2 separate regions of the Homo sapiens genome follow, and region 2 is linked to region 1. The links are contacts of gene promoters, found by promoter capture Hi-C in human tissues and cell types (Jung and others, 2019). All regions are on one chromosome and are shown on one strand. The core of a region is centred on a gene start or on the middle of the fragment in contact, and the rest is flanking DNA. Distances in the headings are between cores, read along the strand shown.

Region 1 (4,783 bases), core at 1,293-3,792:
CACCACTGCGAACACAAGTGCAAGTGCATGCACAGAGACACACGCAGGCACGCACGTGCCATGTCTTTAGACTTGAGGATAAGAAAACATTTCACAAGAAATACTAGTTTATGTTGCATTATACTTGGGCAGTCATTTCCTGTCCCATCTCCCGCCACCCTCCTTAGTTTCCCTTAAAATGGAGAGGGTCTGGTGAGTTTCTAATTTTCTTTGTGGATCAGTGTGTGAGTCTGTAAGTTCCTTTCTGTCCTTGACAAAGTCTGTCAGGAACAGCAAGTCCTCTGTGTGCTTTGAGCCCTTTGTGCTTGAGAAATCTCTTTCCATACTTGCAGCAAGCTGTGTGCCTGCCATGAGTCAACTGTGATGACAGGAATGGGATGGCCCTCCCGATGAGGAGTGGCCCTATCCTGGGGAGCAACCCCAGCTTTGCTACCCTCTCCTTCCTAAGCCCCAGGTCGACCCCCACCCTGAAGACTCTGGACAGACTTCTTCCGACCTCGGCTCAGGACCCTGCCCTCCCCACCCCTACTGACCCTCAGAATTAGGAAGAAGCAAAGTGCTCCAACTCCAGCCCCATTGGGCCAGTTCACCCACCCAGTGTCACTTGAGGCTAAGGCAATCATGCCCAGCCATTACATTTAAACTAGTTTCACAATCATAGCAAGTCAGAGGGGCTGGGCGGGGGAACTCTTTTCACCTTTTACCAGATACCCAGTAGCCCAGTACCAGACTCACTGCACTGAATATGCTCAAACAGTCCCTGCCCTGTTGCCACTAGAGCTGTGGTGTTGGAACACCCTGCTCTTGCCACTTGTTATTTCAGCTTGACCTGGGAGATTCCCTTCCCTTCCCTCCACCCCACCTGACCCCGCCCCCAAGTCTCCATCCTCATCCCCTCAGCACTCACCTGCCACATCCAGGTCCAGCTTGAAGTGGAAGGCATGTGTGTGCACCGTTCCCAGCACTCTTTCCCCCACACGGTTCCCAAAGAGGAGGCCCTCCTCTCCCCCTTTCAGGAAAGCTGTGTTGATATAACCCGTGGCATGGACCCGCCCTTCAAGTGCCCCATTTGGGTACAACACAAAGTCCCAAATGTAGTCATAGTTGCCCACAGATGACACAGACCTGACCACAAGGGCTGAGCTGGCCAAACCACCATAGAAATGATTTTGAAGGTAATTGTGGTGCCTTCGAAGGGGCAGTCCCTGGGCTTCCTCAAATACACACACAGCCCCTGGAAGCAGCTGGACTGCCCCTTTGCCCACTAATATATGGATGTCCACCATCGTGGCTTGATAGGGGCAGTCCACTCCCCGCACCAAGCCTCGGCTGTTACGGCCGAGTCCAAAGCTGCTATCCAAATAGCGAGTCAGCATCGTCTTGGGTGAATCGGCACCATAGATAGATACACACTCCTGGACACTGACTTCATAGGCTATTCGCTCACCCTGGAACCGAACATCAAAAATCCTCAGGCCGCTGAACACCCCATGGCCAAAGGTAAATGACCAGAGGGAGGATACCACCAGGTTTCCTTGCACACTGTACTGGGAACCCTGGGGCGAGAACTGAAGAGGGGGAAGAGGACCTGGAGAGTTCCGAGACCTCAGGGATGAAGCTCCATTTGGTGGAGGTAGAGGGACTCTAACCACTTCCAACCGGCCAGACTTAAACTCCCGTTCCAACTGGCCCAAGTCTGCATAGTAGTGCCCAAGGTAGAAGACCTGCTGGACAGTCCAGTGGGCAGGGTCCAGGGCCCTGTGGTCCAGTAGTAGCTCCAGCCCCACGGGGTGAAGGAAAAGACCAACCCCTGAGATGTTATGGTAGAGGGCCATCCAGGTAGCTCGGTCCCCTGAGCGCAAGCCCCGAGGGGTGGCATGCACAGCTGCCAGGGTAGAGCCATTGTAGTTGAAGGTGGACGACAGGAAGATGGGTGCCTTGGGTAGCTCCACCTCTTTCAGATGCCTCCACATCTGTGTAAACTCAGCTCTCAGCACCGGGCGACGGTGATAGGGCAGGGGCCCGCCGTGACGCTCCACAGTCACATCCCGCATGTACGAGGGGTGAGGCAGCGGCCCCACCACCAGCTCACTCACATTGGGTTGGGGTTGTCCACCAAAGAGGACGATGGCCAGTGCCTCCCGGGCAGGTGGGGGGCTCCCCCTGTCCAGGTGGGCCAGGGCTGCAGCCTTGGGGGGCAGCTGCAGCTCCACTGAGAAGATGCAGTTGTCCGAGGGCTGAGCCTGGGCTGCGTCCACCAGCCCTGGCCCCAGCCGCTGGGTCAGAAAGCGCATCACAGCTGTCAACTCCTCTCGGCTCAGGTCTGCAAACAGCTGGCTCTGGCCAGGGTGTGGCCAGGGCTGGGCCCTATGGGATACAGAGGGGCAGTGGGGAGGCTGGCTGGAACCACCTGGGCTGGTCAGCAAAACATAGGCCAGGGCAAAGATGGTAATGAGGGACAGTGCCAGGAACGCCAGGACTATCTTGAGATGCATGGTGGATGCTGAGAGCTGAAATCAGAATTCTAACAGCTGCTCCTTCCAGTTACTGACATCAAGTCGGGGTTTATATTCGCTAGGATGGATAGGAAGGGAGAAAACTCCACCCCATGGGTTGGGCAGGAAATTTCTGACCTTGATTTATGTAATTCTGTTCCAATTTTCTGTCCTGTGGTTTGGCCCAGGGCACTGCTTCCACATGCATAGCCTCTTCCTTGCCCCTGAACTCCCACTGGTAGCAGTCAGTACCAACTACTGATTTCCATCATTTAGACCAGATGAAAGGGAATCTGGGTTAACGATGCTAACCTCCAGTTTCCACCTGGAATGGGTCTCAGGAAGAGTACAAACCTCAGATGCCCAATTAAGTTCTGCAGCCTGCATGCAAGCACTAAGCTGTCCATTTTCCTACCTCCTGGCAGGAACTGCATCCCAACAGCTCCAGGATTCACTGCCATGTTCAGCAGTAAGCACTGAATTCTACTTGTTGCCTAATGCCAAGCCCTTGATTTGTAGTCAGGCCATTTCCAACCAGTGGAGTGGCTGAGGGCCTGGGCTTAGTAATCAGGTTTGTCCACCAATCCCAGTTCCCTCAGCTGTGTAACCTTAGCGGAAATACTTATCCTGAGTCTCAGTGTCCTCATCTGTAACAAATAGATACAACTATCCTATAGATTCCTGAAGATTAAATGTGATCATGCACATTAGGTACTTAACAGCCTGGCACAGGGGAGGCACTCACAAACCGCTAGCTTTTGGTAGTCATCTCTGAAACAGAACAGAGCAGCTGCTCCTCCATTGTTCAAGACCTTAAACTCTTTTTACAGAGACAACGAGGGGATCATTGGAAACCAGAAGGCTACTTGCAAGGTGGAAGATGAGGAAACTTTATTTCAGAGGGAGATAGATTCCTAGGCAGCCCTCCAAGTAATTTGAAAACCAAAACTAGGAGTCTCCTCAAGAAACTGAAGACATTATTCAGGAAGAATTAGTATAAGGTAAAGAAAATGACTGGGTAGGACGCGCCTTGAACCAGTTCATTCCTTACACATGGAACGATAGCAGCCTCTACTGGCAGTTCATGGGTATCACTCGGGAAGGAAGGAACTAGGATCTTCTGAAAGTAGGGAGAGAAGGCAGCTTAGGTCTGGGAAGAGCTAACTTTCCCATAATTCAGACTGAACACAAATGAAGCACCCAACCTTGCTCAGTAGGCAGAAGCCTCAGTCTTTCCACTATACTGGGGAAAAGATTCAGCTCAACTGGCATAAGGACACACAACAGGGTGGCTAGGTGTCCATGGAGGTGGGTGTCCAAGCGTGCACACATATGAGCATGAGTACATCCCTAGCCACCAGAGCATTGCACCAGGGTCTGCGGCTTTAGAAAGAGGTCAAAGTACCTGTATTTTTAATAATTTCTTGACATGGTAAAAGAATTTTACATTACGATCCATGGGTGATAGGGTGAGGAGGAGGGGCAGTGGAACAGTCCAACAAACGAAACGGGAAACTGAGAAACACATGGAGGGAAGGGGGAAGGGTTTTAGCTGGAAGGGATCTGGAGGGTGGGTGGGAGCACTGCCCAACTAAAATGCAATTGGTTTGTTACTGAGTACTATTCGTGGGAAGACAGCATCCTGACTCCCTCTCTACAGAATATTGGGAGTAAAAATGATGCATCCCCGGTGGAAATATTATTGGGGGTTGGAAGACAGAGACAGGAAAAATAAGTCAGAAACAGACACTAAGAGTCACTGGCAGGCTGACTGCAGGTATCAACTCTCCAGCCGTGGTAGAATAAAAGAGCTAGGGGCTGAAGGGGATTAACACAAAAGCTGTTAACAATTAAGTGATATCTCTGGAAGATTCGAGAGACAGGAGGCAACTCTTCTATAGTTTTGACTTGCCCAGCACATTTCCACATACACAAATGTGTATATGCACGTGTGTGCATGCACATACACATACACACCAATGATTGCTTTCCCCGGAAGCCCGACACTATAAATAAAGAGAAATAGTTCCCAAAAGGAAAGCCCAACATGAGCAGCAGCATCTGGACCTCACACTTGCAGAAACCTTCACCCCAACTGAAAACTGGCTGGGAAAAGGCAACCAGGAGTCAAGCTCTTGCAATAATGCCAAAAAGGGCTGAGTCAGAGAGGAACAGGCTTTCCCCAAGCCCTCTGCTTCTCATCTCTCTGTTCTCCACCAACTCACCCTGGGTACCAAGAGGCTACAGTATCAGGAGGGAGGACGGGCCCAGGACGTTTGTCTGGGTAG
Region 2 (4,959 bases), core at 2,415-4,914, 130 kb after region 1:
AGGCTGCAGTGAGCAGGCCTCTGCACTCCATCCTGGGCAAGAGAGAGAGACCCTGTCTCAAAAAAACAAACAAACAAAAAAACATTATAGGACAACTCTTTTGTGAAAAAGTACGTAAGTTTTGTTAAGCAGCTCTCATTGTTATATGATCATACTTATTATATGGTACAGAGAAAAAGAAAAGACACTATTATTGTAGACAGATGTTGTAAAGATGAAAGTTTGTGATGATGAGATCAATATGGTGATGGGCCTGTTCCTATTTCCTGTCTGTAATGTGTCCACTGCAGGAAGGAGCAAAGGAGTATGCCATGCTCCACAACCCCCGCTCCAAGTGCTCTGGTCGTCGCCGGAGAAGGCACCACATAGTCAGTGCTTCCTGCTCCAATGCCTCAGCCTCTGCTGTGGCTGAGACTAAAGAAGGAGACAGTGACAGGGACACAGGCAATGACTGGGCCTCCAGTTCTTCAGGTACGATGAACAGAAAATGAAGACTTTTTCTTTCCATGCAAGGACTCTGGTAAACCCAGGATCACTGCCTGACACTTAACTTTACTACCTCTTAAAAATTATAAATTCTTTCTACAAGTTTTGTAAACAGTAAAGATGGGGAATATTTTCTTTTTTTTTTTTTTTTTTTTTGAAACAGTCTCTCGCTTTTTTGCCCAGGCTGGAGTGCAGTGGTGCTATCTTGGCTCACTGCAACCTCCACCTCCCAGGTTCAAGCGATTCTCCTGCCTCAGCCTCCCAAGTAGCTGGGATTACAGGTGCCTGCCACCACGCCCGGCTAATTTTTATATTTTTAGTAGAGACGGGGTTTCGCCATGTTGGCCAGGCTGGTCTTGAACTTCTGACCTCAGGTGATCCGCCTGCCTCGGCGTCCTAAAGTGCTGGGATTACAGGCGTGAGCCACCCTGCCTGGCTAATTTTTGTATTTTTAGTAGAGACAGGGTTTCGCCATGTTGCCCAGGCTGGTCTTGAACTCCTGAGCTCAAGCAATCCACCCACCTCGGCCTCCCAAAATGCAGGGATTACAGGCGTGAGCCACCATGCCTGGCCTAAAGATAGGGAATATTTTCATTCCTAACTGTTCTACCTTTTAAAGTAGAATGAAGTACTTCTGAGTTTGTGACAAACTACTGATGACAACTGCATTCTACCTTCTTCTGATTCTGTTATTTCTTCCCTTCTCAGAGGCTAACTCTCGCTGTCAGACTCCCACAAAACAGAAGGCTAGTCCAGCCCCACCTCAACTCTGCGTAGTGGAAGCACCCTCGGAGCCTGTGGAATGGACTGGGGCTGAAGAATCTCTTTTTCGAGTCTTCCATGGCACCTACTTCAACAACTTCTGTTCAATAGCCAGGCTTCTGGGGACCAAGACGTGCAAGCAGGTACCATCTGGAAGCAGCAGAACAAATGGGCCCCTCCTTTCACGCATTGCTCTGTCCAGCCCTTTGCCATCTTACCAGGCTGTGTGTCTGGGTCTGGAGAGAAGTTGTCTTAAGTTCAGTCCCTGATGAGCCTGTGCTTCTGTGAGTTTCCCAAACATGGCCCTTCTGCAAGTGCCAGGCCTAATGATGTTTGGGGACCCGCCTCCTCCTTGCTGAATGCTCATTTCTGTCTGGACTCTATTTAATGCTTCTGGGTCCTACACTCTTTCGCTTCTTTTTTTTGGCTCTGGCCTCCTTTCTAAATGTGTACCCCTTTCCCAGAAGGGACTCCCAGGTCTTTCTGTGGCTCTTGTTAATGAGCACACTGCTGCTGCTGCTGCAGCTGCTGCAGCTGCTGCTCCCTCCACCACTCCGCCAGCCTCTTCAGTCATTTTATTCTCCACATTTTCTATCACTAGATTATCTTTATTTTGTCTTTGAGACAGGGTTTCACTGTGTCGCCCAGGCTGGAGTGCAGTGGCATGATCATAGCTCACTGCAACCTCCGCCTCCTGGGCTCAAGCAGTCCTCTCCCCTCAGCCAAGCAAGTAGCAAGGGACTACAGGTGCAGGCCAGTATGCCCAGCTAATTTTTTTTTTTTTTTGAGACAGAATCTCGCTCTGTTGCCCAGGCTGGAGTGGTGCAGTGGCATAATCTTGGTTCACTGCAACCTCCGCCTCCCAAGTTCAAGTGATTCTTCTGCCTCATCCTCCCAAGCAACTGGGATTACAGGTGCCCACCACCACACCCAGCTAATTTTTTTTGTTTTGTTTTTTTGAGATGGAGTCTCGGTCTGTTGCCCAGGCTGGAGTGCAGTGGCATGATCTCAGCTCACTGCAGCCTCCGCCTCCCAGGTTCAAGTGATTCTTCTGCCACAGCCTCCCAAGTAGCTGGGATTACAGGTGTGCACCACCACGCCCGGCTAATTTTGTATTTGTAATAGAGACGGGGTTTCACCATGTTGGCCAGGCTGGTCTCAAACTCCTGACCTCAGGTGATCCACCCGCCTCGGCCTCCCAAAGTGCTGGGATTACAGGCATGAGCCAATGTGCCTGGCCATTTTTGTATTTTTTTTTAGTAGAGATGGGGTTTCACCATGTTGGCCAGGCTGGTCTCAAACTCCTGACCTCAAGTGATTGGCCCAGGAAAAGACAGGAAAAGACCACAGTGAGAAGACAGACTGAAGAACAGGGACAAGGAGGCAGCTGTCAGGGCCAGCATGTCCAACAGGAAAGGAACCCCAATGCTTTGGCTTCCTACCTTCTGGAGGAGACTCTGTGGCCTCTTCTTCATGCTTCCTGTACTGAGAACAATTAATAGAACCATGGACTGGGCAAGGTGGCTCACACCTAGAATTCCAGTGCTTTGGGAAGCCATGGTGGGAGGATCGCTTGAAGCCAGGATTTCAGGACCAGTGTGGGCAACAAAGTGAGACCCCATTTCTACAAAAAAAAAAAAAAAAAAAAAGCCACGTACCTGTAGTCCTAGTACTCAGGAGGCTGAGGTGGGAAGATGGCTTGAGCCCAGGAGTTCTATACTACATTGAGCTATGATGGCACCACTGCACTCCAGCCTGGCCAAGAGTATGAGACCCTCTCTCTTAAAAAAAAAAAAAAAAAACAAACAAAAACAGAACCATGAGCTGAAGTGCCCTTTGCTTTCATTTTGGAGCTCATACCTATTTCCCTGATCACAGGTTCTCAACGTAACCATCTATGGATTTGTATGCAAGAATGTTCTTGTCTGTATTTTCCTGAGAATAGTTACAGTTTTCAAAGATCCCCCACAAAGGGCCAATAGCCCCAACAAAGAAAAGGAAAAACTAAAAACCAGTGCTTTAAGAGAAAAAACACATCCTATTGAAATGGCTGAGGCTCCGGTATCTTTATACTGACAGAGGGAGCTAATATTTAGCCCACTGAAACCATTCCTGTCCTGTCCTGTCCTGCCTTACACTCAGTTACACAAGGCACAGCGTTGCCCTTCCTAAAAAGAAGAAGATACTGTTGGTCACAGTCAGCCCACTCTTCTACCCGTGGCTTGGTAGAAAGAGTAGTAGGTGACAGCTTCTGACCAGGGGCGGTATTACTGTGCTCAGTATTTCTCCTTTCCTGAGTCAGGATAAATAATTAGGAATGAACTTCAGAGCCAGTAACCCAATGTTCCAGTGGCACTCTGTCTCTCCCTGACTGATGAGAGGCTTGGTCAGCTGCCTGAGTTTCTCAGAACCCTCCCAAGGCCAGCACCCAGCTGGGCCACTTACCTGACCCCCTTGCTCGAGGAGTGACAGGCCCGTTGGATTTCTCTTCCAGGTCTTTCAGTTTGCAGTCAAAGAATCACTTATCCTGAAGCTGCCAACAGATGAGCTCATGAACCCCTCACAGAAGAAGAAAAGAAAGCACAGGCAAGAAGGGTTGGACAAAGTGTTTTGTTTTACAGCCAGGCTGTTCCCTGTGCTCTGACCTCCCCTTGGAGTTCCCATCTGCCTCCCTCTTTAGCAACCGCACAGGCTGTGTGAGCCCATCAGCTTGGCATCACATGACTGAGAGCCAGCCTCCTGAGTGCTCCCTGAGGGTCTGTGCCTTAGATCAGCCCTCTTCTTGTCCCCCAGTGCTGTGGACCATAACTGTCTGTTTTTCTATTTAAGCTTCTGGCCAATAGGACATGAGCTGGCCTCATGGCTCCACCCTGAAGCCATTTCTCCTTGTTGGTTTTGTTACCACCTTACCCATTTCTCAACTCTGATCAGAGTTTATTTATTTGTTTGGTTTGTGTTGTTTTTCTGAGTTACATGATAGCCTTTACTTAGGTTGGAAGTTTTTAAAAAAATTCTGCACCCTGGCCCTGTTCCCTAGTGACTATCACCTATCAGAGGAAGGAGCTGACACCACTTCTAGATACAGAAGGAAATCCCTGTGGCTCCTCCCTTTCAGTTCTTTCAGAGAAGATTCCTGAAAGGCCTTCCCACCTCCCCATCTTGAAACTCCCCCATATCTCCACCTCCACAAAGACAAAGGGAGAGATTTGGAGAGAAACAATAGCTTTATAATAGACCAATAGGCTTGGGCTTTCTTTTATTTCTGTGTTGTGTTCTTTTATGTTATTTGCTTGTTTGGGAGGGGTTGTGTTTAAGTTTAACTCTTGTAGCACAGGCCAGCTGGATTTAGGATGGACTCTAGCTTCTGTGTACCAAAGTCGTCCTGTTGAGGGGTTTGGGAAGATACTCCCCAGTCATCAAACACAGTCCCTCAGAGCAAGTCACGTTGTCATTTACCTGCATTTGCAGAGCTCCCTAGGGCCGTGACTGAGACCTGTCCTTCCTGTCTTTTTCAGATTGTGGGCTGCACACTGCAGGAAGATTCAGCTGAAGAAAGGTAAGTTCTACCAGGGCATTCTTCAGCAGTTCAGCTGGAGGCCTCACTCTGTGGTCATCACCCTACCCCACCTCCAGCTGCACTTGTTGACCCTGTGCCACTTCCGCAGATTGCAGAATTCTCTGCAGCAACTGAGAACAGCTGAGCCTCTCACT

The links. The method cuts DNA at HindIII sites, captures the fragments that hold promoters and counts their contacts. A contact is called where the count stands out against the background at its distance.
Region 2: a fragment that was not itself captured here is called in contact with the fragment with the promoter of AOC2 in region 1 in 1 of the 25 tissues and cell types used here (ovary).

The regions. Positions count from the first base shown.
Region 1 is chr17:42,842,339-42,847,121 of GRCh38, reverse strand. It overlaps AOC2 (amine oxidase copper containing 2), which reads right to left and starts at 2,542. Exons shown (of 4, transcript NM_009590.4): 1 at 908-2,542. The coding sequence starts at 2,495. It overlaps PSME3 (proteasome activator subunit 3), which reads right to left. Exons shown (of 11, transcript NM_005789.4): 11 at 3,362-4,783. The HindIII fragment of the contact is 18,620 bases long and covers 1-4,783 here.
Region 2 is chr17:42,708,721-42,713,679 of GRCh38, reverse strand. EZH1 (enhancer of zeste 1 polycomb repressive complex 2 subunit) reads left to right here. Exons shown (of 21, transcript NM_001991.5): 11 at 291-471; 12 at 1,195-1,391; 13 at 3,743-3,834; 14 at 4,764-4,804. Among named protein-coding and RNA genes, the nearest start is that of MIR6780A, 3.0 kb to the right of the region's middle. The HindIII fragment of the contact is 8,591 bases long and covers 1-4,959 here.